Linked DNA regions of Homo sapiens: region 1 is linked to region 2. Evidence: promoter capture Hi-C in human tissues and cell types (Jung and others, 2019). All regions are on one chromosome and are shown on one strand. Each heading gives the region's core, a stretch centred on a gene start or on the middle of the fragment in contact. The rest is flanking DNA. Distances are from core to core; before and after follow the strand shown. Region 1 overlaps JAM2 (junctional adhesion molecule 2). Region 2 holds the start of JAM2 (junctional adhesion molecule 2).

Region 1 (2,867 bases), core at 236-2,735, 51 kb before region 2:
AGTCTTATCTTGACAGATAAGAACTTGAGCAGATATTTTAAATTTTCTATAAACTTCAAACATTTTCACTTAATTCTTTAACATTAAAGAAATACATAGTATTTTAAAATCATAACATGTTTATTTTAACTTGTAAAATTGTATTTCCAGCTTTAGAAATATTTATAATGGAAAGATTCAAGCATACACAACATTAGAAAGTGAAGTGAATTGTACCTCAATGTATCATTGACCAGCTATAATAGTAATCAATGCATGGTTTATCTTGTTTCATCTGTATCATTAACCACTGGTTTATTTTGAAGCAAATGGACATTATAACAGTTCATCCATCATTATCAATATTTTAAATTATAAGTTCATCACATATTCAATGGCAAGAGTAGGTAGTAGAAAGAAATGTATAACAAAAGAAAAAAAAGAAAAGAAAGCACTTGATAATGGTTGCTGTCATAACCCACCCATAAGTCTTAACTCCCTGAGCTTCTCAGTGGTGGCCTACCTTTCAAATGGAGTTAAGGAAATAGGGTGACAGCATTATGACTGAGAAGCAACCTTCCATTTCCAAACCACACCATTTTTTAATTCCTTTCCCTCAGGAGTTTATCTATAGCCAGGCAAGTGGCTCACACCTGTAATTCCAGTACTTTTGGAGACCGAGGCAGGAGGATGGGTTGAGCCCAGGAGTTCAAGACCAGCCTGGGCAACATAGGGAGACCTCACCTCATCTCTACAAAAAAATAAATAAATAAATAAAATTAAATTAGCTGAGCATACTGGTGTGCACCTGTAGTCCCACCTACTTGGGGACTGAGATGGGAGGATAACTTGAGCCCTGGAGGTGGAGGCTGCAGTGAGCCATGATCATACCACTGTGCTCCAGACTGGGCAAGAGAACAAAATCTTGAAAAAAGAAAGAAAGGCAAGAAAGGGAAGGAAGGAAGGAAGGAAGAGAAAGAAAGAAATAAAGAGAAAGAAAGAAAGAAGAGAAAGGAAGGAAGGAACGGAGTTTAATCTACTGAGCCAATAAGAGCAATTGCATTTTGCATACTTTATGCCTGAGTTGAGAGAGAAGAGTCCAGGGATTCAGTGGGCTTCACCTCCCTCTGTTCTCTGCTTTTGTGGCTATTGTGTTTTATGTCTCAGACATGGTTGCTTTCATCTCACACTTACAAAAACACATTTTCAGTAATCAGTCATGTCCGATCTCATTTGCCAATTAAAGGATCCTGGTTGTACTTGGCATTCTCTTGCTCACACCTCTTCAAGCCTACAGCTGCTTACCTTGAAGAGTCTGTTGATAGTAGACAAAGGAGACACTCCGACCCAGTTTCTTCCACTCTAATCTGGAGGAAACAGTCTTCTTTGGGGTTTTGCAGGCTAAAATAGCCTCTAGGAACAACAATAAAAATACTTGTTTTCTAATTGTCCCCATGAATTTATATTTTACTTAACTAGGTAACAAAATTGTAAACAACTTTAAATTACTCCTTTATAGTTTTATTCATTCATTCATTCATAAATTACATCAACAGGTCCCATGAATTGGAAGCCTTCTAGCTCTTCCACATAGTAACTGTATGACACTGTGCTTATTTCCCTGGTTATCAAGTTTGAGTTTTCATCTGTAAATGGGCTAGTATTTCACAGAGTTGTTGTGAGTCTTCAAATGCAATAAGATATGCAAAGCACACAGGCTTGGACATAGTAAGGACTTAACAAATGGCAGCTATGATTAACTATGTGTCTTATTATTCCCAGTGTCAGTCTTGAAGGAGTCTACCATCTGGTAGAAGAGGCAACTAAGATAATGGCGTTTCAGCCCAGTGTTGCTGAATACCAGCTATGCAGATGGTGATTCATGCTTAGTACCCAAGAAAGGCACTGAATCCAGCCAGGGACATGCTGGGAAACTCAGAAAAGTTTCCACAACATGCTATATTCTCACTCAGATCCCTTCTTTGTCAACCTTCTCTACAAATACATTAATACCTATCCAATATGGTCTCCTAATAAATCATTGATTTTTACCCCCAAACAACTGCCTATATAACCTTGCCTCAGTCCAGATAATTATTAAAGTATTAAATCTTAGCATCAAGTGTAACTGCCTCAATGTAGCTAAGTTCTTTTATTACAAGAAATTTACTGCAATTGTGTCATTAATACTTGGAGCCTCCAAAGGAACCCCCTTCTTTTCACTGTCCAAACGAGATGTCTGAGAGAAAAAAAAAAAAACAAAAAACCCAGTGCCAGTCTGGGAACTGCCTCAAGTTGCCAAATGGAAACCTCCAGTTATAAATATTTTTAAAAGTATTTTTTTAACCAGGCTCTCTAGAATGTCAATTCCATGTTTCTGAAATACTTTTTTCCCCACAAGGCATATGGTTTGACCTAAAAAAGCACAGTATCTTTGACCAGAAATTATTTTAAAATCCTTTTCATACCTTTGATTTTAATGTTAAGCAAATGAATGTTAAAAAAGAATGCAGAATATTTAGTTTCTAATTTTTTTCATTCCACACATATTGCTGGACATACAAAAATGGAATAAAAGGTAATGGAAAATAGAAAGTAGGGCAGAGAAAAGAAAGGCAAGGAAGAAAAGAACCAAAAGTTGTTTTCAAGAATGTCTAAAGTTTTTAAAGCAGGTTTTACATTACAAAGAGACATCATTTTACAGACATGTTTACAATTATGCTACAAAGACAAACGTGTGCTAAGGGACCTGTCTGAGGAAACACAGTTCTTTTCTGTTGATTAAGGAGAATGGGTGGTGACCTTCCGGAGTCTTGAGTTGTAGATAGGTTTCCTTCCGGTATTTTGTGAGTTTCCAACAATTAAACACACACCCACACTCATTTTTA
Region 2 (2,700 bases), core at 8-2,507:
CGTTGGATGTCCCCTGAGGACAGAGCAGCTGGCTAGAGTCCCCAGACCAGACTTCTCTAAGTGAATGTAGATGTGCAGGTGGAGAGGATAAAAGTAATTCTGGCTCAGCAGCCACGAATTCCCTCCACCTCCGCCCCACAAGTGCGCTGCATATCGCCGGCTCAGCTGGGACGCTACAGAGCCCAGACCACGCGGACGCTGCCCCCTCCCCGGGGACTCAAAGTGTGGCCGGCGCCCGCCTCCCAGTGATGCCATCTTTCTTGGGGTCTTAGCATCTTACCAGTGGGTAGTGAGTTTTGCATTCGAATCACGTCCCTCTGTCTGAAAACTTACCCCAACTTTGCAAACAGATGAGAACCTGCTAGTGGGAACCCTTAATTTTCTGTATCTAGAACTGACAAAATCAGACGCAATTCACAAGAAACCCACGACCTCGCGCTCCCTTGCTCCCAGCGTCCGCTCGCGGGCACCCTGGGTTTCCCGCTCGCCTGGGCGCAAGGTCAGACGCCCCGCGGCGACCTCGGCCCAGAGCCGCCCAGACACTGTCAGCCAGCGCCCCGTGGGGGGCTGGAGGGTGGGGGCAGGCTGGTCCAGGCAGGAAGGGTAGAGGAACCCGAGCAACTTACAGCCCAGGGCGACCACCAGGTAGCGCAGCAGCAGCAGGAGGAGGCGGTGGCGGCTCCTCCTCGCCATCTTCCCGGGGCGGCAGCCGGCTGCTCTGAGGAGGTCGAGGGTCCCGGCGGCAGGAGCGCAGGAGGCCGGGGGCCCTTGAACTTCTGGGGCGGGAAAGGAGCAGAGAGTCGGGAGGGGAGGAAGAGGAGGGACGGCTCTAGATGGGATGTCAGTTTCCCCCTCCCCGGGGCGCCTTCTCAGCTGGCTGCCAAGAGGCGGGTCCTCCAGCCCAGGGATGGGGGTCTGTTCTGTTTTGGGGGTGTGGGGGTAGGGGCTAGAGGGCGTGAAAACCAGACGAGGCGTCCGCCGGGTCCTAGCGAGGGGGCAGCAGGAGGAGAGCAGCGCCCGGGAAAGCCCCGGCGGGTCGTCCCTCCGCCCCCACGCCTCCGGGATTGATCGGCTTTGTGTCTGGTCCGCGCGGGGCTGCCAGCTGTCCCCAGGGCGAGGAGCTGGGGGCGGGAGGCGCGGGCAGGCTGGGGGTGGGGGGATTGGGTGTCTCGGGGACGGGGATGTATGCGGGTAGGGAAACGCCTCCTGTTTTGCCCCAACTCCTTTCTTCCCCTCGTTGGCTCAAAACTTCTTTCTGGCTTTTCAGCCTAGGGGTGGAGATATTTGGAAAATTCTGCCCAACGGGCGAAGCTGAGGGGGTGGCGCTCTGAGGAGATGGGGTTCGCGGGCTCCGCCTCGAACTCGAGAAAAAAAAAAGCAATCAAGACTCGTGCTGGAAGTCAGGTCTCAGATTTTAGTACAGCCTTGGTCCCTTCTCAGTTTAAGCTTTTTGCTCCTTGGAGATTTGAGGTGCATTTGTCTCGCGTTCTTGTTCTTTGCTTTTTTTTCAGTGTCAGAGTTGGAAGTTCATCTAATGGTGTGAAATATTTATCATGTTTCTTTCAAGTTACATAACTGCTGCTTGTGGAGTTTTCCACGTGTTAAAACTCTACAGCTGCCCTTTGTCAGGTTTATTTTTGGTCTACTGTGCTTTTAAAAGGGAAACCCATTATGAATGCTCTGTTGCGTGCTTTAAAATTGCACCACACTTACATTGGACGCACGTACACTGGCAATTTTTATATTTGTTCCTAGGGACCAAAAATGTATGGTGTATTCAAGAGTATTGGCAGGTCTGGAAAAAGGCCATTCCCAGGAGAAGAAATTAGTATACATCAGTTTTTTTCTTTTGTTTTTTTGTTTGTTTTTGTTTTTGTTTTTTTTTAAAGGTTGAATAATGGATGAAGTTCTGTACAGCAGATAGTTGATTTAGTGGTGTATTTAAAAAGAATTCAGCTAGCTCAGTGGACAAAGGCGACCAGAGTTTAGCTGTGCAGAACTGTGAGGAATGAGGCATCCTTGCTGTTGCCGTGGTGACAGTGATGAAAACTTAGTACCCAGGGAGGGGGTGGGAGGAGAGGACCCAGGGGACCCAGAAAGGAAAGTCAAAATGGCAAAATGTTAAAACTCGTACTCCAGTCAACCGAGGAGAAGGGGCACAGATTTAACAACAGCTTATGCCAGTTTTTCTGGGCAGTAATGAGAAGGATTTGATGCTTAAAAAGAAAAGTTGTTGGCATCTTCTTTTTTCTAATTCTTGCTACAGCTATATGTCTTTTACTCCTCCCTAAAAATATACACAAAAATGTCATACTTAAAAAAATTCTATGCAATCCTATGTGAGTAACTGACTAAGTTATTTATTTGCCACCCAGCCAAGGCATTTGACAAATGGCAACAATGTGCTGGATGCTGAAGGACAACCATGAACAAGATAGAGGCTTTCTTGCTAACAAGCTCACAGTCTTGAGGGGAGACAGAGTCTTATCAGGAAAGATGCCTGATACCACATGGTAAATGTTACAGGAGGACAGAAAATAATAACAGCTATTTTTATTGCATGCTTTCTCAGTGATGGAGTCTGAATAACGCAATATCTAATCCCCCAACAACTCCATAAAAGAGGAAATGTTATCATTCCCACTTTGCAGATGAGAAAACTGGGCGGAGAGACACTAAATGGCTTGTCCAAGGTCCATG

What was found. The method cuts DNA at HindIII sites, captures the fragments that hold promoters and counts their contacts. A contact is called where the count stands out against the background at its distance.
Region 1: a contact is called between a fragment that was not itself captured here and the fragment with the promoter of JAM2 in region 2, in 3 of the 25 tissues and cell types used here (dorsolateral prefrontal cortex, lymphoblastoid cells and mesenchymal stem cells).

The regions. Positions count from the first base shown.
Region 1 is chr21:25,688,391-25,691,257 of GRCh38, reverse strand. It overlaps JAM2 (junctional adhesion molecule 2), which reads right to left. Exons shown (of 10, transcript NM_021219.4): 3 at 1,285-1,392. Among named protein-coding and RNA genes, the nearest start is that of ATP5PF, 45 kb to the left of the region's middle. The HindIII fragment of the contact is 7,820 bases long and covers 1-2,867 here.
Region 2 is chr21:25,637,815-25,640,514 of GRCh38, reverse strand. It overlaps JAM2 (junctional adhesion molecule 2), which reads right to left and starts at 1,257. Exons shown (of 10, transcript NM_021219.4): 1 at 627-1,257. The coding sequence starts at 693. RefSeq lists enhancers at 275-344, 247-747, 1,485-1,624 and a silencer at 1,075-1,264. The HindIII fragment of the contact is 5,846 bases long and covers 256-2,700 here.